7 separate regions of the Homo sapiens genome follow, and regions 1, 2, 3, 4, 5 and 6 are each linked to region 7. Evidence: promoter capture Hi-C in 16 types of primary human blood cells and fetal thymus (Javierre and others, 2016). All regions are on one chromosome and are shown on one strand. Each heading gives the region's core, a stretch centred on a gene start or on the middle of the fragment in contact. The rest is flanking DNA. Distances are from core to core; before and after follow the strand shown. Region 1 overlaps APBB1IP (amyloid beta precursor protein binding family B member 1 interacting protein). Region 2 overlaps APBB1IP (amyloid beta precursor protein binding family B member 1 interacting protein). Region 3 overlaps YME1L1 (YME1 like 1 ATPase). Region 4 overlaps APBB1IP (amyloid beta precursor protein binding family B member 1 interacting protein). Region 5 has its middle 10 kb from the start of FAM238A. Region 6 overlaps APBB1IP (amyloid beta precursor protein binding family B member 1 interacting protein). Region 7 holds the start of ABI1 (abl interactor 1).

What was found. The method cuts DNA at HindIII sites, captures the fragments that hold promoters and counts their contacts. A CHiCAGO score of 5 or more calls a contact.
Region 1: a contact is called between a fragment that was not itself captured here and the fragment with the promoter of ABI1 in region 7, in 4 of 17 cell types (fetal thymus, total CD4 T cells, total B cells and 1 more). The highest score is 6.9, in fetal thymus.
Region 2: a contact is called between a fragment that was not itself captured here and the fragment with the promoter of ABI1 in region 7, in 1 of 17 cell types (fetal thymus). The highest score is 6.9, in fetal thymus.
Region 3: a contact is called between a fragment that was not itself captured here and the fragment with the promoter of ABI1 in region 7, in 3 of 17 cell types (naive CD4 T cells, megakaryocytes and fetal thymus). The highest score is 6.2, in naive CD4 T cells.
Region 4: a fragment that was not itself captured here is called in contact with the fragment with the promoter of ABI1 in region 7 in 1 of 17 cell types (neutrophils); the score reaches 5.3 in neutrophils.
Region 5: a fragment that was not itself captured here is called in contact with the fragment with the promoter of ABI1 in region 7 in 1 of 17 cell types (total CD4 T cells); the score reaches 5.9 in total CD4 T cells.
Region 6: a contact is called between a fragment that was not itself captured here and the fragment with the promoter of ABI1 in region 7, in 11 of 17 cell types (fetal thymus, total CD4 T cells, total CD8 T cells and 8 more). The highest score is 12.6, in fetal thymus.

Annotation. Positions count from the first base shown.
Region 1 is chr10:26,440,641-26,443,823 of GRCh38, reverse strand. All of the region lies in intron 2 of APBB1IP (amyloid beta precursor protein binding family B member 1 interacting protein), which reads right to left. Among named protein-coding and RNA genes, the nearest start is that of APBB1IP, 3.9 kb to the right of the region's middle. The HindIII fragment of the contact is 1,660 bases long and covers 974-2,633 here.
Region 2 is chr10:26,553,051-26,556,279 of GRCh38, reverse strand. All of the region lies in intron 11 of APBB1IP (amyloid beta precursor protein binding family B member 1 interacting protein), which reads right to left. Among named protein-coding and RNA genes, the nearest start is that of LINC03028, 25 kb to the left of the region's middle. The HindIII fragment of the contact is 8,879 bases long and covers 1-3,229 here.
Region 3 is chr10:27,136,620-27,140,269 of GRCh38, reverse strand. The region is part of intron 4 of YME1L1 (YME1 like 1 ATPase); the gene reads left to right. Among named protein-coding and RNA genes, the nearest start is that of YME1L1, 16 kb to the left of the region's middle. The HindIII fragment of the contact is 790 bases long and covers 1,770-2,559 here.
Region 4 is chr10:26,495,517-26,499,133 of GRCh38, reverse strand. It overlaps APBB1IP (amyloid beta precursor protein binding family B member 1 interacting protein), which reads right to left. Exons shown (of 15, transcript NM_019043.4): 4 at 2,743-2,830. Among named protein-coding and RNA genes, the nearest start is that of APBB1IP, 59 kb to the right of the region's middle. The HindIII fragment of the contact is 5,009 bases long and covers 1-3,617 here.
Region 5 is chr10:26,598,279-26,601,466 of GRCh38, reverse strand. No RefSeq gene overlaps it. Among named protein-coding and RNA genes, the nearest start is that of FAM238A, 10 kb to the right of the region's middle. The HindIII fragment of the contact is 3,160 bases long and covers 1-3,095 here.
Region 6 is chr10:26,479,405-26,482,849 of GRCh38, reverse strand. All of the region lies in intron 2 of APBB1IP (amyloid beta precursor protein binding family B member 1 interacting protein), which reads right to left. Among named protein-coding and RNA genes, the nearest start is that of APBB1IP, 43 kb to the right of the region's middle. The HindIII fragment of the contact is 919 bases long and covers 1,541-2,459 here.
Region 7 is chr10:26,859,328-26,862,788 of GRCh38, reverse strand. It overlaps ABI1 (abl interactor 1), which reads left to right and starts at 1,831. Exons shown (of 11, transcript NM_001012750.3): 1 at 1,831-2,042. The coding sequence starts at 1,926. RefSeq lists an enhancer at 1,589-1,788 and silencers at 2,109-2,198, 2,309-2,458. The HindIII fragment of the contact is 3,622 bases long and covers 1-3,461 here.

The DNA of each region.
Region 1 (3,183 bases), core at 554-3,053, 420 kb after region 7:
GGCTCATGTCTGTGATCCCAAGACTTTGAGAGCCCGAGGTGGAAGGATCACTTGAGCCCAGGAGGTCGAGACCAGCCTGGGCAACAAAATGAGACCCTGTCTCTACAAAATTTTTTTTTTAATTAGCTGGGCATGGTGACGCACACCTGTGATCCCAGCTACATGAGAGGCTGAGGCAGGAGGATTGCTTGAGCCCAGGAGGTTGAGGCTACAGTGAGCCTTAATTGTGCTGCTGCACTCCAGCCTGCACCCTGTCTCAAAAATGAATGAATGAATGAATAAATAAATAAAGTGGAGATGACTTCCTAAGTTACATATTCTTTTTTTCTTTTGCCTCCTTTATTTATTTTCCTCATATAAGTAATTTTTTTTTTTTGAGATGGAGTTTCGCTCTTGAAACTTTTTTTTTTGAGATAGAGTTGCCCAAGCTGGAGTGCAATGGCATGATTTTGGCTCACTGCAACCTCCACCTCCTGGGTTCAAGCGATTCTCCTGCCTCAGCCTCCCGAGTGGCTGGGATTACAGGCATGCACCACCATGCCAGGCTAATTTTTTTGTATTTTTAGTAAAGACAGTGTTTCACCATGTTGGTCAGGCTGGTCTTGAACTCCTGACCTCAAGTGATCCTCCTGCCTCAGCCTCCCAAAGTGCTGGGGTTACCAGTGTGAGCCACCACGCCCGGCCACATATTCTTTATTCCACTTAAAACTCATAGTTCTTTACTGATGATTCTTGGTCACTTTATCAATGTCTAAGATAGCACAATTTCCGTGGTACTTACTATTAACTATTTCTAATACATGTTGTTTTTATGCTATTCAATTAAAGTAAGCTGTCTTTACTGAACAGCACAAGCTGCTTGTGACCACCCAGAGTCGGTGGAGAACCTGACTCCAGTCTGCCATGCCAGTGTTCTTTGATCCCCAGTTTGACACCATCCTTTACAAATGTATGTACATGCTTCCTAAAAGCTTTTTAAAAATTAGCACATTCAGAATAATGATTACCTCTAGCTGGGAAATGGGGAAATGTTATTGGAAGGAGACCAGGAAATGTCTTGGTAAATATTCTACTTCTTAAGCTGGGTGATAGGTACCCAGATGTTGGCTTTATTATTATTTGTTGTTATTTACATATATACATCATCTTTTGTAGATATGAAACATTTCATAATAAAACATGAAGGAAGAAATGAATCTAGTCATGATTCACTTGCTCTAATATCATTTTTTGTTTCTCTCCAGTTTGATGTGATGTAGCTCTCTGGATGCAAACCCTCCAGTCGGTTTGGGGAAACACAGTTGCTGTGTGATTTAGCTTTTATCCCCCATCCCAGCCCACAACCATCTCACTGATGAGTCTGTAACATGAAACTAAATCAAAAAGATCCCCAACAGAATTAGAAAAAATATTAAACTCACTGCTTGCTTGTTGATTTAATCAACCTAGCCGGCTGTCATGTGGGATTAGAATAAAATAAACACAAAAATGAAAACACACGATTGCTAACAAAGCAGATTCTTTTTTCAAGGCACACGTAAAGATAATAACTTCAAAGTTGATTATATTAACTTGTCTTCCCATGATAACACGATAAGTTCTTTGCTTGGTTTCCTTCTATTCAACCTTCTCCCGTGACCCTGGTTGGGGAGACCAGGGACCCTGATATGTAGTCCCACAGCACTCAACTCTGGTTCCGCATGGAATTCTACATCTCCTCTTACATCTAGTTACATCTCCTCTTCTAGACTATAAACTCATTGTGGAAAGGCCCCAGGTTTTTTCATGGGTGCCACCATCAGATGGCCCAGTTCAAACAACAGCTCTGTTTCTTACTTCCTGCGTAAGTTTCTTACCCTCTCTGTGCTTTCATCTTGATGTGATGATTAACAAGATGACACATCTAAATTAGTACAGGGCCTGGTAGTATTTATAAGTAAACATTATAATAATTATTATTTGCTATTACTATGTGATGATCAAAGAGAAAACTGAGTTGACAGAGAAGAAAGAAAATAGCTCTTATGATTCTTAATTATTCAAGTTCATGGTCAACGCTCAGGAAATGTTTTAAAACTGAGTCACGGAATCAAGCTCCAGAATATGTGGAATAATGAGAACGTGTGATGCCTTGGAGTGGTGTCACCTCTCTGCTTGCTCATGCCTGAGGTTTGGGACCAGTGGAGCCAACGGGATCTCAGGGGCTTGTGATATTTCCATGGTACCACTCAGTGAGATTAATATATTCTGCACATTTAGCCAGCCTCTTTGGAGTCCTCATTTTGGGATCACAAATTGGCTAGGAAATGATGATGCAGTGGTGGCAGGTCACATCCTCTAGTCCCCCAAAAGCTGTCCTCAGGGTCTGCCCTTCCAAGCTGCAGGTACAATCTAGTCTCTTTAACTGGGTATAGGTGTAATGGCATTCCTTCATGCGGCTAGTTCTCTCTTTTCAAGAGAAATCTAATGATTACTGTTCCAGATATCTAGCAGTTTTCTCTAAAAGTCATGTTTCTCACGATAATTAAAAGTGTAATATGTATTTTAAAATCCCCATGCAACCAGTGTAGAAATCTTACACTTTAAAATCTGGCATTTATTATGTACATGAATTTATAATAAATGCTTAAGCTTTAAGTGACTTGCCTCTTAGATGACAGCAGTGACATAAAACACACACATTCATTTTCATACTGAGAAGATACCTGTTGTGTTAATAAAAATTGTTCTGTTTTGAGGCAAGCATTCCTAAGATCACCGTAGTCTCCATAATATAAACTCATGGGGTCCTATAAAATTGTAAAGATTGTGGTCCAATAGGCTATGGAACGCAGACAATTTATTATAAGATTTGTGGACTCACTAAAATGTTTTAGGCATAAAAATAATTAAAATAAAATTGAAGAGAATTAGAAGAAAATGAAAATAATAATGCTCTTTGGAAGTAAGATGGCTTAAAGAAAATTCAAAGTGACATATCAAACAGACATTTATGGCAATGAACTTTATAAGTAGCTCATTCTAATAATAATATGGAACTATTTAAAACTTTGATTGATGAGTGAAAAAAGGCAAATCAATAGTGGATAACTGGTGAACATTCTTAGGATATAAAAATACAAAAAATGTAATAAATACTATAAAACCTAGTATTGTGTTTAAGATTTAAAGTAATGCCATAAA
Region 2 (3,229 bases), core at 255-2,754, 310 kb after region 7:
GAGACTTTGCCAAGGAGCTTATTGCCTAACCGAGCCTTTTGCTGAATAATCATTTGCAAAGAGGTTTCAGGAAAATGCTGGTGCAGTGTCACTGGCCAGGCTCTTTCGCAATTGATTTGATTGTTCCCGATCATAAAGAGAGAGAAGCTCTCTTGGGACATGAGAACAGCACACAGAGGTCAGGGCGATTGTGGACTGTCACTGCTTAAAGGGCACTTATAGACCCTCTGAGCTTACGAAATGAGAAAACAGGGTGAGAGAGGGTGAGCAATTTATCCAAGGCCAAAGGTAGTGAAAGAACCAAGGTCCTGTTTGTTCAATAAATATCTCTGGGTGCCAAGAAATATGCTAATTCCTAGGTACATTAAGAGGAGTAAGAGAGGCAGGGCCCCGTGGCTCACACCTGTAATCCCAGCACTTTGAGAGGCCAAGACAGGCAGATCACTTGAGGCTAGGAATTTGAGATCAGCCTAGGCAACACAGTGAAACCTTGTCTCTACAAAAAGTACAAAAATTAACCAGGTGTTGTGGCACACACCTGTAGTTCCAGCTACTAGAGATGCTGAAGTGGGAGGATAGATGGAACCAGGTGTTCGAGGCTGCGGTGAGCCATGATTGTGCCACTGTGCTCCAGACTGGGCTGGAGGAGACCCTACCTCAAACAAACAAACAAAAAAACAACAAAAAGAGGAATAAGAGAGCTCATGTGTTAATTGGGCAATGCTCCCTGGAGGTGTTTTAGGGAGAGATGTATGTAAACACCTGATGTAATCAAATCACATATGTAATGTGATTATGAAATAGTATGTTCCATACTAAAAGTTTGAAAATGGGCCAAGAGAGGGTCTTTGGAAGAAGCGACAGAATGCTGTAATATATTTGGAGAACATGGAGAAATTCTGTATGGCTGAGGTCTGGAAACCATGGAATGAAGAAGCAGAAATTAAGCTGGTGTGGAATCTGAGTAAAGACCCTTGAGTCAAACTAGAATCTAGACATGATCCCCTGGGCAGTGGGGGGCACTGGACATTTTAAAACAGCACAGTGACACAGGAAGTCACTGGGGGCTATGAGGAAGATGGATCTGGAGTGAAGAATAAGATCGAACTGAGGGAGGGCTCAATGGGAGATCTTGATGGGAAATAGAAGAACTTGCTCATAGATTAACGAGAAATGGGGACAGGAAGAAAATCAGGCATGCTTTTTCTGTTTCTAGCTTGGTAGAGTAGGTGGATGTTATGGGTTTAATTATCTCCCTCCTCCTAAAAGCTATGGTACTCACTCCTGGTACCTATGAATGTAACCTTATTTGGAAATAGGGTCATTGCCAGATGTAATAAAGTTAAGATGAAGTCATCCTGATGAAAGTGGGCTCTAAATCCAAAGAGACTGGTGTAAGCCGGGTGTGGTCGCTCACACCTGTAATCATAGCACTTTGGGAGGCCAAGGTGGGTGGATTGCTTGAGCCCAAGAGCTCAAGATCAGCTTGGGCAACATAGCTAAACCCCATCTCTGCAAAAAATACAAAAAATTAGCCAGGTGTGGTGGTGTGCACCTGTAGTCCCAGCTACTTGGGAGGCTGAGGCAGGAGGATCACTTAAGCCCAGGAAGTTGAGGCTGCCATGAGCTGTGATCATACCACCACACTCAGCCTGAGCAACAGAGTGAGACCCTGTCTCAAGAAAACAAAAAACACCAAAACCGACAAAAAACAAGCAAACAAAAACAACCACCAAAATGACACGTTCTTATAAGAAGAGAAGAAACAGACACAGACAAAGACAAAGAAAGAAGATAGTCACATGTTGAGGGAGGCAGAGATTGGCACACGCAGCTGCAAGCCAAGGAATGCCAGCACTGCTGGGAGCTGCCGGAAGCTAGAAGAGGCGTGGAGGCATGGAACAGATTTTGCCTCTGAGCCCTCAGAAGGAACACAACTCTGGTTTTGATTTTGGACTTCTGATTCCAATATCACCTTGATTTGGGACTTCTGGTCTCCTGAACTCTTCAATAAATAAATTTCTGTGAAGTTATCTAGTTACCAGCAGTTTGTTACAGCAGCTCCAGAAAACGAATAGAGTAGGTGATGGTGCCATTCATCCTTGAGGGACTGTGGAAAGCAGGGGGTGGAGGAAATGTTGAAATCAGTGTGCATGATAGAGGTACCCCTTGGACATGTGGTTACTGCACGTGTGGAGCTAGGGAAGAAGGTGAGACTGTCCACTACGGATTAGGAATTATTTGTCTCCAACACAGACAATGGTTGGAGCTGTGGCTGTGAATGTGATCTCAGCGAGAGCACGGGGAGTCTGGTGAGAACTGAATTTAGGACCCTGGAGAGCATTACAGTGTGTAGGGAAGGAGGAGGCACCAGCAGAAGCAGAGTAGGGGTCCAGTTTGAAGACCATAAAATGAGGATGCTGTCATCAATGCAAAAGATGCCATGAGGACTGGAGAAAGCCACTATTCTTTGGAAATCTTAATAATAGCAGTTTCCACAGAGGTGCAGGGAGAAGCCTGCTAGCATGCAAACTCCACAAAGCCAGAGGCCTTTGTTTTGTTTACCGATGTACCCCCAAGTCTGAATAAAGAAAATTCAAAAGATATATGTATACATTCGTAGAGAAAGGGTCTGCCTCTGTTGCCCAGGCTGGAGTGCAGTGGTGCAATCATGGCTCCCTGCAACTTCCAACGCCTGGGCTCAAGTGATTCTCCCACCCCGATCGGCCACCTGAGGAGCTGGGACCACAGATGTGCGCCACCATGCCCAGCTAATGTTTTTAAATTTTTTGTAGAGACGAGGTTTCACAATGTTGCCCAGGTTGGTCTTGAACTTCTGCTTTCAAACAATCCCCCTGCCTCGGCCTCCCAAAGTGCTGGAATTACAGGTGTAGGCCACTGTGCCTGGCTGAAAGGAATGTTGTTGAATGAATGAATTAAACTATGAGAATAAAAGTTGAGGCCGGGTGCGGTGGCTCACACCTGTAATCCCAGCACTTTGGGAGGCTGAGGCAGGTGGATCATGAGGTCAGGGGTTCGAGACCAGCCTGACCAACACGGTGAAACCCTGTCTCTACTAAAAATACAAAAATTTGCTGGGTGTGGTGGCGGGCACCTGTAATCCCAGCTACTCAGGAGGCTGAGGCAGGAGAATTGCTTGAACCTGGGAGGCGGAGGTTGCAGTGAGCTGAGATCGCGCCACTGCACTCCAGCCTGGGCGACAGAGCGA
Region 3 (3,650 bases), core at 915-3,414, 280 kb before region 7:
ACTTTGGGAGGCTGAGTCAGGTGGATCACCTGAGGTCGGGAGTTCAAGACCAGCATGGCCAACATGGTAAAACCCCGTTCTCCACTAAAAAAGAAATACAAAATTAGCCAGGTGTGGTGGCACATGCCTGTAATCTCAGCTACTCGGGAGGCTGAGGCAGGATAATCGCTTGAACCTGGGAGATGGAAGTTTCAGTGAGCCAAGATGGCACCTCCATCCTGGGCAACAGAGCAAGACTTTGTCTCAAAAAGAAAAAAAAATTTAAGATATAAAGATAGAAAATAAATTGAATTTCTGAAAAATAATAGAAGAAATTAATACACACAAAGCAAACATTTTAAAATAATAGGTGGAAATAGTTTTAATTAAACCAAAAACAAATTTAGTATAAAAAAAGGAACAATTTAACAATTCTGATTAAGAAACAACAGGAAAATACAGACAGTATTAGAAGTATGAGTGGGAATTGCCATGGATATGTGAAGGTTTTAAAATTGCAAGGTAGTATGTGTAACTTTATGTCAAAAATAAAAATATGTTGAAATGGACAATTGTCTAAGCAATTAATTAACAAAGTTAACCCAAGAAGAGATAGGATAATAACCATGAAGTTTAAAAGACAGTATTTTAAAAATATTGTCCCTTTGCCCCAGAGGCACTAGGTTCAGATAATTTTTATGGCTGCATTCTTCTAGAATCTTGAGTTTCTTTTTAATTTAAAACCTTATTAAAAAGAAAAAGATAGAGTTCCCTATTTATTCCATGAGATTGCTGTTAGTAAAACTTTTTAGTATTAGCATAAGGCCAGGCACTGTGGATCACACCTGTAATCCCAACACTTTGGGATGATCGCTTGAAGCCAGGAGTTCAAAACAAGCCCAGACATCATCTCAACAACAGCAACAAAAATTAGCCCGTCGTGGTATCATGCCCCTGTAGTTCTGGATACTTGGGAGGCTGAGGTGAAAGGTTTGCTTGAGCCCAAAGTTCAAGGTTACAGTGAGCTATGATCATGCCACCGTACTTCAGCTTGAGTGACAGCAAGATCCTATCTAAAAAATATATATATGTATATATGTATGTATCTGTGTCTGAATGTATATACACACGCAAGCACGACAGAGGAACAAAATAGATGTGTTTCACTTAACAGAAATCCTAAATAAAATCTGAAGAAAGCAAATCTAGAAATGTGCTAAAAATATTATATCATGATTAAGGAATACAAAAGTGATTTAAGATTATTAGTAAGTCAATTTATCATATTGATTAGAAAAGAAAAATATCATTATTTCAATGTATGATAAAAAGACATGATATATTTTAATTGCTGTGCTTCCTGAAAACTCTTAGAAAGTTAGAAATGGAAGGAAACTTAAAATTTATTAAACATCTATTATGTTCCTGTTAATTTGAGAAACATGGAGTATCCTGGTTTTTTTTTCAGCATTAATTTGGAGATTCTGAACAATATGATTTAAAAGAAAACGAAATGAGCCATATGTAAGTCAAAAGAAGGAGTAAAATTATAATTTGCAGGTGATAACGATTGTTTACCAGAAAATTCAAGAAAATCATCCAAAAGGCTGTTGAAATAAAGAGTTCACTGCATTGTCCATACCAGATAAATGCATAAAAATCAATAGCTTTCTTATATTCTAGCGGCAGGTTTTATTTACAATTTCTTTAAAACCCAGTAAATGTTTTATCCTGACAGGAAATATACAACATAGATATATACACACATACACACGTGTGTGTATGAAGCTTTACTGAAGGAAATGAAAGAGGAACTGAGTGAAATAAAATAAGGCCATAATCCTATTTGGAAGAACTAGGTATTACAACAGTATCAATTTACACCCAAATTTGTAAAGTCAATACAACCCCAATCAAAACTCTAATGACCCACTTGGGAAATCGAGAAGTTGATTTTAAACTTAATTTGGAATAACTGAGTACATGTTAAAAGAATACTAATGAAGGGGATTTTATCCTACTTAAGTACATGAAAATACAGATATTTAGCCATGGAAATCAGTAGTGTAGTATTACAAATAACTAAAATTAAAAAATTTAACCTAGTGCTGACATACATCAGTGCAACAAAATTAAGAATTTTGAATCAATAAGCAAATGATGGATTATCAAATGTTATCAGCCTAAGTGGCTGTTTTGGAAAAATCAAGTTCTTTTCTTACATCATACCAAAAAAAAAAGTTCCAAATATGTTAAAGGGTTGAAAACAAAAATATAAAACTGAAAATATTAGAAGTAAGTAGACTACCTTTAAAATCTTAGTTTGGCAATGAAACTCTAATCAAGTTAAAATGCAGAAAACACAGCAAAGGTATGGCTGCACTGAGCTAATAAATTACTGTATATGATCGAAAGACAAAGACACATTAAAATAAATGTTTACAATATATATAACTAAAGATTACTATCTGTAACATCCATATTATCTAAATAAAAATGGAAAAATGTGCAAAGGACATGCATGGTCAATTTACTAAAGAAATAAAAATAAAAATAGTCAATAAAAATACAGAGGAAGCTTTTCAAAATTTTCCCACACTTGTAATCTGGGAAATGCAAAGTAAAACAAGGTACTGTTATTTTTGCCCGTCAGACTTGCACAAATTTAAAAGATTCATATTATTTAGTGTCGGCAAGGATATGAAGAAAAGGAAACTCATAAGCATTGGTGGGCACATAAATTGATAACAGCCTTTTTTAGAAAGTAGTCTCTTAGTGTCAAACAAAATTTAAACCTTAACAGTGTTTCTTTCAGGAATTCAGTCTACATCTGCTGACATACATATATAAGAATGTTCACCACAGTATTGTTTCCAGCAATAAAAACCAGAAAACAAATAATGTTCAGGGAAATGGTTGAATGAATTGCACTGTGATAAATTGGAAAAGTGTAAACAGCCATTAAACTGAATGCACTGTTCTGTTCTGAAAAATATGCACGAAAAATGAAAATTGCAAAAAATTAGGTACTATTTCTAGAGTAGTTTTTATAGAAAGAGCACCTGTGTGCATGCATACAAGGGTAGTCAGAATTGTTAACAGGTTATACTTCTGGGAAGTGGGATTGGGGCTTGAGAAATTAGAAGACACTAATTTGATACACTTACCCTTTTTTCAAAAACATTATGTAATTACCAAAAACATGTAAAAATCAGTTGTGTAGATTCAATCTATTTTAATTACTTGGTTGGGTTTTTTTTTTTTTTTGAAATCACAGTTTATCAGAGTTGATACTCAGTTTTTTAAATTATATTGTATAACCCTCTGACTTCTCTATTTACCTTTATCCCCTATCAACATAAAAAATAGGCCAGGCGCGGTGGCTCACGCCTATAATCCCAGCACTGTGGGAGGCCAAGGCAGGTGGATCACCTGAGGTTAGGAGGCTGAGGCAGGATAGTTGCTTGAACCCAGGAGGCGGAGGTTGCAGTGAGCAGCAATGCCTTGCACTCCAGCCTGGGCAACAAGAGTGAAACTCCATCTCAAATAAATAAATAAATAAATAAATAAATAAATAAATAAATAAATAAAGTTCCTTTTGAAAAAAGGAGGATAGAAAAAACTATAAGCTGGGCATGATAGATTTAAGTTCTCAGACCTAATCCCAGCTC
Region 4 (3,617 bases), core at 912-3,411, 360 kb after region 7:
CGAGCATGCCTGGCTAATTTTTTAATTTTTTTGTAGAGACAGTGGTCTCATTATGTTGCCCAGACTTGTCTCAAACTCCTGGGATTAAGTGATCCTCCTGCCTTGGCCTCCCAAAGTGGTGGAATTACAAGCATGATTACAGGCTCGCACCCAGCCTGGGCAAAATATTTTGAACTTGTTTTAGCAGTGTTTTAAAGGGAAGACAAAACAAATCTATTCTTAATCTAATTCCATACAAATTTAATTTTCCATACGTAGCAGTAGTTTTTAAATGTCTTGTCCTGTATCCAAATTAGGCCACATGTGTATATCTTGATTCCTTAATGAGAAGAGTGTCTTATTACTGTAGTGTAATATCACTATGTTTATATCTTGCTGGGTATCATTGCTCCTATCATTGTCAGTACTGTGATACCAGGCACTGAGTTAGTGCTTAGAAAGCGTTAGTTGAGATGACTACAATTAAGTTGAAATATTGATTAAATTTTAACTTTAATTGAACTGATTATAAAGCATGTGGCTGTTATGAATTGGTGAGGCTAAATTTGCTTTTTTCATATGTGCAAGTATATGTTATCTATTGCCATCATAATTTTACTAAAGTGTATAGCATTTATTTATTTATTTGACAGAGTCTTGCTCTGTCATCCAGGCTGAAGTGCAGTGGCATGATCTTGGCTCACTGCAACCTCCGCCTTCTGGTTTCCAGTGATTTTCGTCCCTCAGCCTCCCGAGTAGCTGAGATTACAGGTGCCCGCCACCTTGCCTGGATAAGTTTTGTATTTTTAGTAGAGATGGGGTTTCATCATGTTGGCCAGGCTGGTCTTGAAATTCTGACCTCAAGTGATCCACCAGCGTCGGCCTCCCAAAGTGCTGGGATTATAGGCAAGAGCCACCACGCCTGGCCTGCTTTTGTAAAAAAACTTCATGAATGTTACCATCTTAATGGAAATGACTGGCAGGAATAATAAATTTATGTGGCAAATAAAAAAAGTGTAGGAAAAAGAGAAAATCGCAAGATGTATATTATAATTTATCAAGAAAGAGTCACTGGCACTTAATGGTTTACTACAAAACTACTAGAAATGATAGAAACAAAGAAATCCTGGTCGGGTGCCATGGCTCACACCTGTAATTCCAGCACTTTGGGAGGCTGAAACAGTTGGATCACCTGAGGTCTGGAGTTCGAGACCAGCCTAGCCAACATGGCAAAACCCCGTCTCTACTAAAAATACAAAAATTAGCCAGTCATGATGGCGCATGCCTGTAGTCCCAGCTACTCGGGAGGCTGAGGCAGGAGAATCGCTTGAACCCAGGGGGCAGAGGTTGCAGTGAGCAGAGATCCCGCCACTGCACTCCAGCCTAGGTGACAGAGAGAGACTCTGCCTGAAAAAAAAAAAAAAAAAAAAAAATCCAGAGGACAGAAATAAAACTTGGAATTCTGGATTTCTGTAATTGAACTTTTCTCCTATTTTGCTTTTCACATTTTTGGTAGGCACAGCAAGTCTTTGGGAAATCTTTTTCCAGAGTTGCAGGGAGTTCTCACTAATTTGAAAGTGATTGTTTCAAGACTTTTTTTTTTTGAGGCAGAGTCTCGCTCTGCCGCCCAGGTTGGAGTGCAGTGGCGCGATCTCAGCTCACTGCAAGCTCCGCCTCCTGGGTTCACACCATTCTCCTGCCTCAGCCTCCCAGGTACCTGGGACTACAGGCACCTGCCACCACACCGGGCTAATTTTTTGTATTTTTAGTAGAGATGGGGTTTCACCGTGTTAGCCAGGATGGTCTCGATCTCCTGACCTTGTGATCTGCCCACCTCGGCCTCCCAAAGTGTTGGAATTTCAGGCGTGAGCCACTGCGCCTGGCCTCAAGACTTATTATAATATGAATAGCACGTGGCCTAAAGATGTCTCCATTTAAATAAACAGAGTTTTTGTTTTGTTTTGTTTTTTATTTTCTTGAGATAGAATCTCACTCTGTTGCCCAGGGTGGAGTGCAGTGGCAGAAACACAGCTCAGTGCAGCCTTGATCTTCCTGCCTCAGCCTCCCAAGTAGCTGAGACCACAGGCACATGCCACCACGCTTGGCTAATTTTTTTATTTTTTACTTTTTGTAGAGATGGGGTCTTGCCATGTTGTCCAGGCTGGTTTCAAACTCCTGAGCTCAAGCAATCCTCTTGCCTTGGCCTCCTAAAGTGCTGGGATCACAGGTGTGAGCCATCATGCATGGCTGAGAGATTTTTGGTAATAAAATAAAGTGACAAGTTCAGGAAAAATGAAAAAATGTCAAGTAGACTAAATTACATATAAGTATATATTATATATAAATTAAAAAATATTTTAAATAAAATATTATGAAGTATCTATTCATATTTATTAATCATTATGAAATAGTTGATTTCTATCACTGAAGGGACATTTCCTTACTAATATTTTTGTATACTACCCCTTGTTACTCTATGGGCTCAGTAATAAGAAGAAACTCCCCTTACTTTAAAACACGAGATCATTTCGAGACTTTTCACAAATGCAGAATGGTGTTCCCTTTCATTATTGGTGAAAATGTCTTCTTGACTCTCTCAATTCAATCTAGACACAGTAAAACCCAGTCTGAAATCCATGATTTTAACAATATTTATCATGATGTTTAGGTTCCTTTAATTTAGTTTTCAAATTATAGTTTCATACTGATTTGAATCATCATTATGATTTTGAATTACTTAAGAAAAGAAATTGTTATGCTTACCATTTAAATCTTTAAACCCCACACTGTAGTTAAATTCAGCTCTGGGTGGATTAGGGTCAGGAGGAGGGAGAGTGTCAACTCCTAAACTCTGTGAAAAAAGATCCCCCCATCAAAGTTATTCATGATACAAACATTTCTGTAGCACACTTTACTCAGCAAGTCAAAAACCATGTATCATTTACACATTTTCTCCCTTAGTGTGTTCTCTGAAAACCATATGGTAACTTGAAAATGTTTTATGTAATTTTTCCCCTATAGAAAATTACAGCTTAAAAATTATTCTAGAAGGAAGATCTTGAAACAGACCACGTCAATTGAGAGCAATGATAATGAGGTAGTTAATTTTTATAAAGAACACATAATTTCTTGTAATGGTGAACACACACACTATATATATATAATATATATATTATATTTATATATATTAAATATATATAAAATATATTTTATATATATTAAATATATATTATATAAAATATATATTTATATAAATATATATATATAAAATTCTGTAATGACTTAAGTCATTACATCAAATAAAGAAATCTCCAGTTACTTGGAGAAGAAAAGCTGTTTGAGGATGCAGTCTGTCGTAGTAAAATTTTTCCTTAGCCTACAATCTTGAGAACCTACCTGTTGGCAGGGCTGTTTAGCCAAGCAAACCTATGAGTACATCCACTTGGCCACAACAAAGAAATAGCAAAAACCAAAAGGGCTTTGTGTGAAGGCAGGTCCAAGAGACTAAAAGGGGCCTCTTTCCTATTCTTTTTTTTTTTTTTAACAAAAATGAGACGGGGGTCTTACTATGCTGCCCAGGCTGGTCTTGAACTCCTGGGCTCATGTGAGCCTCCTGTCTTGGCCTCCTAAAGTGCTGG
Region 5 (3,188 bases), core at 266-2,765, 260 kb after region 7:
CCTGTAATTCCAGCACTTTTGGAGGCTGAGGCAGGAGGATCCCTTCAGGTCAGGAGTTCAAGACCAGCCTGAGCAACACAGGGAGACCCTGTCTCTACAGATAATTTAAAAAATTAGCTGGGCATGGTAGTACATGCCTGTGGTCTCCCAGCTACTTGGGAGGCTGAGGCGGGAGGATCACTAGAGCCTGGAAGATGGAGGTGACAGTGAGCTGGGATCATGCCACTGCATTCCAGCCTGGGTGACAGAGCAAGAACTTGTCTCAGAATAAATAAATAAATAAATAAATAAATAAATAAATATAATAATTTCCAATGTAAAGTAGGAAATCAGGCAATATTGGGATGTTTAATTTTAACAAGTTGTTACAAGCTCTAAACCCATTGCTGTACTCTAGGCAAAAGCAGCTGTGAGTAAATCCCCAACCTACTGATAAAATCTGTGTGAAAACATATTTGTATAATGATTTTTTGAAATTAAGAAACTAACATCTAAAAAACTATCTTATTATTTAGTGCTATATATTTTTCTGTAGTTCATTTTGGGCTTTTTCATCCTTGGAACTGGGATATGGTTTTTTCTTGCTTATTGCTTTTTAGATGCTGTGAAATCTGTTTATTTCCTGTTTATTCCAAGAGTTATTTACCTCTGTATTTCTTTTTTTAAATCACTGTATTTCTTAATTTCTAAGTAGTTGGAATTATTTTGTCTGTATTTTTATGACTAAATAATATGTTTGGTAAAACTCTCCTACTCAAAATGTATTAAGGTTTCCTTGTGGCCCAACATAAAACATTTTTGGACGTGTTTGGTGATTATAGGTAAAAATATGTATTGTGTAGTGAGAAGTTTTAAGATATGAAATTGAGTGTATTGATTACATTATTCAAGTCCTTTATGAGCCTCTCTATTTTCTGTCTGTTAGACAAGTTAGATTCTTTTTTAATTTTTATTTATTATTATTTTTTGAGATGGAGTCTTGCTCTATAACCCAGGCTGGAGTGCAGTGGCGCTATCTCGGCTCACTTCAACCTCCACCTCCTAGGTTCAAGCGATTCTCCTGCCTCAGCCTCCCGAGTAGCTGGGATTACAGGCACCCACCACGATGCCCAGCTAATTTTTTTTTATACTTTTGGTAGAGACGAGGTTTCACCATGTTGGCCAGGCTGGTCTCGAACTCCTGACCTCAGGTGATCTGCCTGTCTCGGCCTCACAAAGTGCTGGGATTACAGAGACAAGTGAGAATCTTAAGAGGTGTGTATTAAAAGTGCCTACTTTAATTATATTTTTATCCAAGTTTTTTTTCTAATTGTTTGAAAGTTACATATTTTGCTCTGTATTATTGGTACATACAGATTTTTTACTTCTATTTTCTTCAAAAAACAGGCTTTTATCTTAACAATGATTCCATTTATTTGGAAATATACTTATAACTATTGATTTCAATTCGCCTGACATTAATATTGCCATTCATGCTTTCTTTTTGTTGAGTTTTCCTCAAATCTCTTTACTTTTTACCTTTATCTACTTATCTTTATTATTTGTTTTAAAGTGTTCTTCTTGCAAAAAGAATGTATAAACAGATTTCGATTCAATGTGATAGTTTCTGTCCTAATAGAAGTATGTAGGCTGATCACATTTATTATAACAATTGATGTATGTGATTTATTCCTTCTGTCTTACATTGTACTTCATCTTTATTTAACTGTTGGCTTCACCCAGACTTTCTTATCTTTTTCTGATTTGAAATTCATTCTTCTCCCCGACACCCCGCCCCCTATTGATTTGGAAACTCAACTGAAAAAGACTGCTACAGTTCCTCTCATGGTTATCTTCTTTTTTTGCCATTTTCATGGGAAAACAAGTTTTTAGATATTTTTCCGCACTAAGATTCTATTTGTCCATTGCTTTCCCCTTCATCCCAATAAGATGAGACCTTCGAATATTTTCATGTTTTGCATCTAGTTACGTAGCTGCTAGATTTTGTTAAGATAGTTTAATATTTTGAACTTTAGATTATTAGTTTTTCCCTTGAAGTGTATCTGTTCTGTTTAAAGTGTCTTTGCCTTTGACACTCCCCCATCCCCCACTTGGAGTCATTTCTCTGCTCACCACCATCCTTTTCTCATGGTTCCATCTTCAAGTCCCTGTCTTGATTACTTTCTTAAGTGTTTTGCCCAAACAGGGTGGATAGGTGATATATTCTCTGAATCTTTGCATAACTGTTAGTACAGTTTTTATTTTACTCCAACAGATGATTGATATTCATTTGCATGTAACATATCATTGTGCCTCTTTACCACCTGAGCAATATTCTCCAGGCTAGCTTTTATCAGTAGTAAGCTGATATTTTAATCTCTGTCTATCTACTGCATGGTTTCTTATTCTGAATTTCAACTGAAAAGAAAAAGGAACATGGTTGCCTTTTTTATGCAGCAGTAAATAATACATAGAAAAATTTGCAATGTTTATAATTGCTCAAATTGAAATATCATATGTATGTATATGAATAAGTGTGAATGATATTCTGAGTACATTAATATTATATCAAATGTTAAATATTGATTGATTCAATTACTAGTCATTGAGCTCCTGGAGGCCAGGGACCACATTTTAATTATTTCTGTGTCTCTAACGTATTTGCTAGAAGACAAAATATATTTCTCTTCCTACCTTTCCTCTCCCCCAACTCCTCCAATCTAAAACTGAGCCTGTTTTCAGTGCAACAGTACAACAAGATTCCAGATGGAAGTCAAGCATAGAGTGATTTTATTAACCCCAGTAGCAAAAATATTGTTTTGATAAAGATAGAAATTTTACATTCCATCTATTGTTTCCTTAATTTAATTAAAAAATATATTGGTACTACAGTCACATAGTTCAGAGTCAAAGTGATATAAAATGATATTCATTAAGCCATCTTGCTCCTACCCTTGTCTCCATCACTTTTGTACCTGTTTTTCCCTGCAGAGTTTATTCATTCAACAAATATTTATTGAATATTTAGGTTCTCAGTATGTGCCAGACACTGTTCTAAGTGCTAAGGGCACAGCAATGAAAAATAACAGGAAAAATAATTGTGCCCCCATGAAGCTTACTTCTGGTAGGAGAGACAAATTAACAAAACAAATAAGTTATATTGAATATTAGGAGATAAGTGCTAAGGAGGAAAAGATAACGGGGTTAAA
Region 6 (3,445 bases), core at 751-3,250, 380 kb after region 7:
CCTCCCAAAGTGCTGGAGTTACAGGGACTGTTGTTTTTTTACCCTACAGTGTTTTGAGTTTATTACTAGATTGCCAAAACTAAAATAGAACTGGAATTGATGAGAAATAAGTTTCAAAAATCTGAGGCTCTCCAAGTATCAATTTGCTTTGATATTTTTATTATTTTTTAATTAGAAACCATCTGGCAACATTTTTTTCTAGGAAATAAATCAGTAGACATATTACAACTACAGATACAAAAGAGGAGAAAAAAATTTTAAAAAGCTTATGAATGGGATTGCCCTTAGGATGAAATACGCACTACAGAATTCGGATGCTCGCAAATGCTGGTGGAAACTGTGAAGTCACCTGTGTACAGTGTGATTGAAAATAACTTAGAATATTGAATTTTACCTGATTCCTTCAGTGTTGTATTTTTTCAAAATGCAATGAAAGCGTTTTATCAAGAGGAAGTGGTTCACAGAATAACACAGCATATGGTTAAAGGTTCTTGCAACGTTTGAGGGAGGAGAAAGGGGAAGCCGAGGCTTCTGTGTAGCGTAAAACAGGAAACAGAAGCATCTCTAAAGTTACGGATTATATCAAATAATTCACTCAACAGAGAACTAAGGTGAAGAAACCTCTTGGGCCAACTTAACCAACTTTGCACTGTACCCCTGAGATCGGTGAAAATCTTAATAGGCTAGCAAGTAGTTACTGAATCAAAAGGACAATGACTGTGGTCATATGATCAATTCAGACTAATATGCAGTGAGTCACAAACAAAATTCATATGGACATGTGTATATACATAGGTAGGGTCACACAGAAGGGACAGCCAAGACAACAGGGTCCTTTTGTAAGCAATATTGTCATGGCAAAAGTTACCTGTAAATAACATTTTAAATAAAAAACTAATCATTAAATGAAATGATTTATTTCAGTAATTTAAAAAAATACTAAGAGAGTGCTTTGAAAAGTCTTAGAATTTTGCAGTAAAGACACACACACACACACACACACACACACACACACACACACACGTAATGAGATGGGCTACCACATTTTAAAAAATATGATTTAGGCCAGGTGCGGTGGGTTACACCTGAAATTCAGCACTTTGGGAGGCAGAGGTGGGAGGATCACTTGAGGCCAGGAGTTCAAAACCAGCCTGGGCAATATAGCAAGACCCCATCTCTATCCCCTCTGCCAAAAAAATTAGCTGGGCATAGTGGTGCGCACCTGTGGTCTCAGCTACTCAGGAGGCTGAGGTGGGAGAATCCTTTGAGCGCAAGAGCTCATGGCTACAGTGAGCTATGACAGCACTACTGCCCTCTAGCCTGAGTGACAAAGTGTGACCCTGTCTCTAAAATTAAAAAATAAAAACAAAAATAACAAAACAAAAAATAAAAGATACAATTTTTAAATGTGCTTATTTCCAAATTGCTGTGATTTTATGCAAACCATAAAGTTAGTGAAAAATTTATGTTTTGCATAAAATCAAAGCAATTTGGAAATAAGTGGGTGGGACAAGGTGGGGACACTCTGCTAAGTCAAGCTTCAGTTAGAAAAAAGTGAGAGAACTGAACAACACCCAAAAATGTTCCCCAGGACTCAAGTGCAAGAACACTTGACACAGGACAACAGAGGTCAGCACATATGAACCCAACATCCCCACTTCCATCTGTCTGTCTGGCCTCCAGCTCTGGGAGACAAGTTGTAGACTAGTTTCACTTGGATGCCCACGGGTTGGAAAGAGAGTGCCAAGTCTCTAGATTATTTTAAGTTCCCTTTTTTTTTCTACTTTGGGTGTCTATATAAGGAATGGGGAACTGCTTTTGTATTTAGGACCTACTGTGACCTAAAACCAGAGGGACAATGCAATTTAGAATTTTTTGAAGAGATACAAATAGAAAATACTCTGTTTATCATGTTGTATTAATAAATAAAAATCATGAACATTTCTTTTTAGAAACAAAAGTCCTGTGAATAGTTAGGTCAATTCACTGTCCCCTACTTGTCTTTATTTTCTCATGAATCTATCTCAACTGGACTTTTGTTTGCACTATGTCACCAAACTGTGTGCCAAGATTACCAACAATCTGTGGTGTATGGTGGCTCATGCCTGTAATCCCAGCACTTTGGGAGGTCGAGGTAGGCAGATCACTTGAGCCCAGGAGTTAGAGACCAGCCTGGGCAACATGGGGAAATCCCATGTTTACCAAAAAAAAAAAAAAAAAAAAAAAAAAGAAGCAGCTCAACCATTCCAATATTAAAGTTATTTTGAAAGAAGAGATTACCAATGATCTCTCTGTTGTGAAATCCAATGGTTAGTTCCCAGTCAGCATCTTATACAGCCTTTAATATTATTGATCACTCCCTCCTGGAAATATTTTCTTCACTTGGCTTTCCTGACAGTTTTCTTTCCTGGTTTTCCTCCTCACAGAGGCCAATGTACCTTGAAGCCAACAAAGAAGCTTACATTTCAGGGCTTCTCACTTGCAGGACCCTTCTGATGCCACATGTCTCCTCTGGCACCCCAGCAGCAGCACACAACACAACACTGTTCTGTTGCTGGGAGGTCACCTGGGTCAGGGTTCCTAGGTCTTGGAGTGGGGTCAGGCGACTACCAGCACTATCTCCACTTTACTTGGAGTCCAGCAAAAGCCCTCCCATGATGCATTTCGTGGACATTAGATCTCATGTCCCAATCCAAGGAGAAGATCTGAAGGAAACGCTCTGCTCTGCTCCTTGCCCGGGGTCACCTTGATCCAAGCTTCCTGGCTACCTTATGTCACCCCCAGCTCCAGCTCAGGATTTGGGAGGGTGGTGGGAACTGATGGTTCTGTGGTCCTGGCCAAACAGTCCAGCTGTCGCCTGGGCCTTTGGATGCCACAGGGTGCCATGTTAGTAAGAACAAAGGCTGCACTTCTCTGAGGCCTTGTTCACTGGCAAGAAGTACCGCCAGAGCTAGAAACCACAGAGGAAGTTACAGAGGAGGCATTACCATCTAGAGCTGTCAAGCAAAAGTCAACTTCTTCTCAACTCTCAATCCTAAAAATTAATTTTGATCAGCCATGCTGGAGGAGACACTAAATCATCTATACAGAAAATTGTATTTCAAATTTATTCCCTATAGGAAGAGAAGGTAAAAGAATATGCAGCCAAAAGCGTAGCAAAAATACATCAGCAAGTTATTTAATCATCATAAAGATTACAATGTTGCTTTTTAGATATATACACTTACGTGTCAATTTTTATTTTTATTGTTTTTTTTCAAATGTTTGCATATTCTAATAATGCTGTAAAATAAAGAGTTTCATTTTAGGCAGTGAAAACTATTTTTTCACAGTAAAGTATCACAGTTAAGTCCTTTTGGGTTCAGTGATCTCTAGTGATTAATAACAAATACACTTTATAAATTATACACTTTATAAATTATTGCTGTCTCCTATCCCAGCCATG
Region 7 (3,461 bases), core at 582-3,081:
CTGACAGTACTTTTTATTTGTATTTATCATCATCATCATTATTATTCATTCATTGCTCAACTGCATGGACAGTACGTTGAAAATAGTAAATTAGTATCACCTCCCTAATCACTTCCCCAATGTTGTTGAAATGTGTCAATATTTGAATATATACAAACTGAGTGATTTCTACAGTTAAACCTCAAGTAGAGACCAAGATCAATAATACATTAAATTTTAATAACTTGGATTAAGTCGTGTTTGGGTTAACGATAAATATCAAAAGATAACTATTACACCTATTCCAGATAATAAATGTATTACTTTCCATAATATCTGGAATAGGTATAATAGTTATCTTTTGATAGATTCCTTGATGGAGAATCTGGTGGCAAGGGGAAGTTAACGTTTTTAGTAGGAAACTGAGTTTTTCCTTTCAGAGGTCGAAGAGGGAAACTGGTTCCCTGGGGCCCTGAATAAGGCCCCAGTAAAGGCAATATTCAATAAATACCTGGTGCTGGCAATTTTTAATTTGGTTGAGTGATGTTTTTACTCCTAGTTATTTTGATTCTAAATGACTTTATGGAGATACATGAACATATGTCCAAAGTCTTTGGACAACACTTTTCATAGCTGATTATATCCGAAGCATTTAATGTTCCTGTTGAAGTGAAGAGCTTGAAATATAGGGCCTTTTGAGACTATTCCAAAGCAGGTGATAAAAACAAAACAAAACAAAAATCCAGGAGCAAAAAACGAAGGATCAGGGTGGGTGGCTCATGATTGTAATCCTAGCAGTTTGGGAGGTTGAGGCAGAAGGATTGCTTGAGGCCAGGGGTTCGAGACGAGCGAGGGCAACATAATTTGATCCCTGTCGCTATAAAAAATTAAAAAGCTCAGCCAGGTGTAGTGACCGACGCTTGTAGTCCCAGTTACTCTGGAGGCTGAGGCAGGAGGATCGCTTGACTTTAGGAGGTCTAGGCTGCAGAGACCCATGATTGTGCCCCTGTACTCCAGGCTGGGTAACAGTGAGATCCTGTCTCAAACAAGCAAACAACTCCCACCCCTAAAAAAACGTGCACATGACCTTAAAAGTGTAGGAAGATTACATGATAAGGAGAGTCAGAGAAAAGAGAAATTAGGACAGGAAAGCACTACAAGCTATGTATGTTTATTTTATAATTGAGTCTTTAAGGGTACGGAGTATTCGTACTCAACTTGTACCCCCAGTGTCTAGTACGCTGCTTGGTAAACAGCTGGCAATCAAGAAATGTTTGCTAAATTTTAAATGAATTGATGGGGGCGGAACTTCAGAAAGTAAAGCCTGACTCGCTTTATTTCTAAGAAGGCAGAGGAAGTAAAAATCTAGTTTTCCGTACTCTGTCCCCTTTTTAATCCTTCTCTGAATGGGTGTCCTTGATTCACTGACATTTCCTAATTAACCAAGTTCTGCCAAGTTTCACATGAAACTTGGGGAACCGATTTCATTCCCCCAGTATCACCCTGTGGCGCCACCTTCCGGAGCTGTGAGGAAACTCCGGACTTCCCCCCAACACCGCCCCCTCCCTCCACCCTCGGTCTCCGCTTTCTGCGCTCTGCCGCGTTGGTTTTCGGAGGTGTCTGGGCGCATGCGCTTTGGACGGGCCGCCTAGCCTAGGAGAGACTACAATTCCCAGAAGACAGTGCGAAAGAAAAAAAAAATCCCGCGGTCCGTGGGGGTGGGAGAAATAAACGCTCGCGAGAGAACGAGGTTCAGGCGGCTGCACGAAGGGGGTGGAGGGGGGCTGGAGAGAGTGAGGAGGAAGGGGAGGAGGTGCCGTCCCACAATACCAGGCGGGAGGGCGGGTAGGCGGTTTGTATCCGGGCTGTGAGGTGCTCGGAGCCTCGGCGGACCTTGCTGCCTCTGTCTCTTTAACGCGAGAGGAAGCGATGCAGAGGGGTGGAAAATGGCAGAGCTGCAGATGTTACTAGAGGAGGAGATCCCGTCTGGCAAGAGGGCGCTGATCGAGAGTTACCAGAACCTGACTCGGGTGGCAGACTACTGTGAAAACAACTACATACAGGTGAGGCGCTCTGGCGGCCGGCGGGCGCTGGCCGGGTCGAGGACCCGCCGGAGTGACCAGCCCACTGGGCGGGGTGGGGAACTGCCCTGACCTCAGCGGCTGCCACCAACCCGAGCCCCTACCGCAGCCCCAACCCCAGCCCCAACCGGGGACAGAGCGAGTGGCCGGGCTGAGGGAGTCGGGCTGCGATACAGGAAGTGGCTGTGGTGGTGGAAACCGATAGAAGGGGAGAGAGAAAATGGGCGAGGGAGCCGGGAGCCCGCCGCTGCCGCAGCCCGGCGCCCCCCTCGCGTCCGCTTCCCCCAGGGCCCGGCCACCGGGGTCGCGCGCCCCCCAGGTAGCCTCCAGTCCGCAGGGCTGGAGTCCCGGAATACCCCCGAGCTGCCGCCGCGCCGCCTCTCTGCGCCGGGAGAGGAGGTCCAGGACGGGAGAGGGGAGAGGAGAGGGCAGGGACGAGGCTGAAGCCGCAGAAGGGAGAGGACCAGCGGGGTGTGTGTTGTGTGTCGGCGGAGGGTGGGGTGGGGGCGATTATGTCAGTTTCAGCCCCCAGAGGGTGTGTCTTTTATTTATTTATTTATTTAAAAAAAATTTGTCATGAGTCACATTACACCGACCTCCCGGAGGAGAGGAGGAAGCGGGTGTGGGGAGTGAGGGAGGGCGTTTGAGAGAAGTTCATCTTAAAATTCCTTTAATTGAAGGTTTGTAAATCTGTCTGCTTGTCCATTTTCAAGTCGGGTTTTTTTTATTTTTTTCCCCCTCTCATCGTTTTCACTTCCGCCCCACCATAATGTATTCTAAGAGGTTGTTAGGGCTGCTATCATTAATTATCAAACACGAATTGTTCTTAACTCCTTGGAAAAACGGCTTACCCTCCCTTCTCCCAAAAGTTCTTGAGCTGTAGGCTTCATAAGTAACTTAAAATAGACTGGTGTCATCGCCGGTTGCTTATTTTCTGAGGTTTCTCTCTTAACAAGCTAAGTAAATGTATAGTATGTGAATCCAAATACAGAAACGAACAGAGGTAGCCTCTGAACTACAACGTAAAAATATCTGTTATTGTAAATTAGAAAACTCTTGGGACTTTGTGACAGATGCTTGTTTGTTCGTTTCTCTTTGGATGATTGGAAGTGAATTGTGTGTGGTAGTTTGTTTTGAAGATCTTTAACTGTGTAAACCAACAGTTTGCGCTAGAAACAAAGTAGCACAGTCCTTTGTATAAATATAAAGGCACCAGGAATGCTCTTGCTTTTGGTAAGGCAAGGCCAAAACGTGCTTTGAAAGGTTAGGGTTATTGCAATTCAGAACTAAATTGTTTATAGAAATGTCTCCCATGTGATTATAATTTTTAAGAACCGATGTTTCTGTGTTGGCAAATGCTTCCCCTCTTTATTTTTAGAGGGAGATGCTGTTTTCAGAATG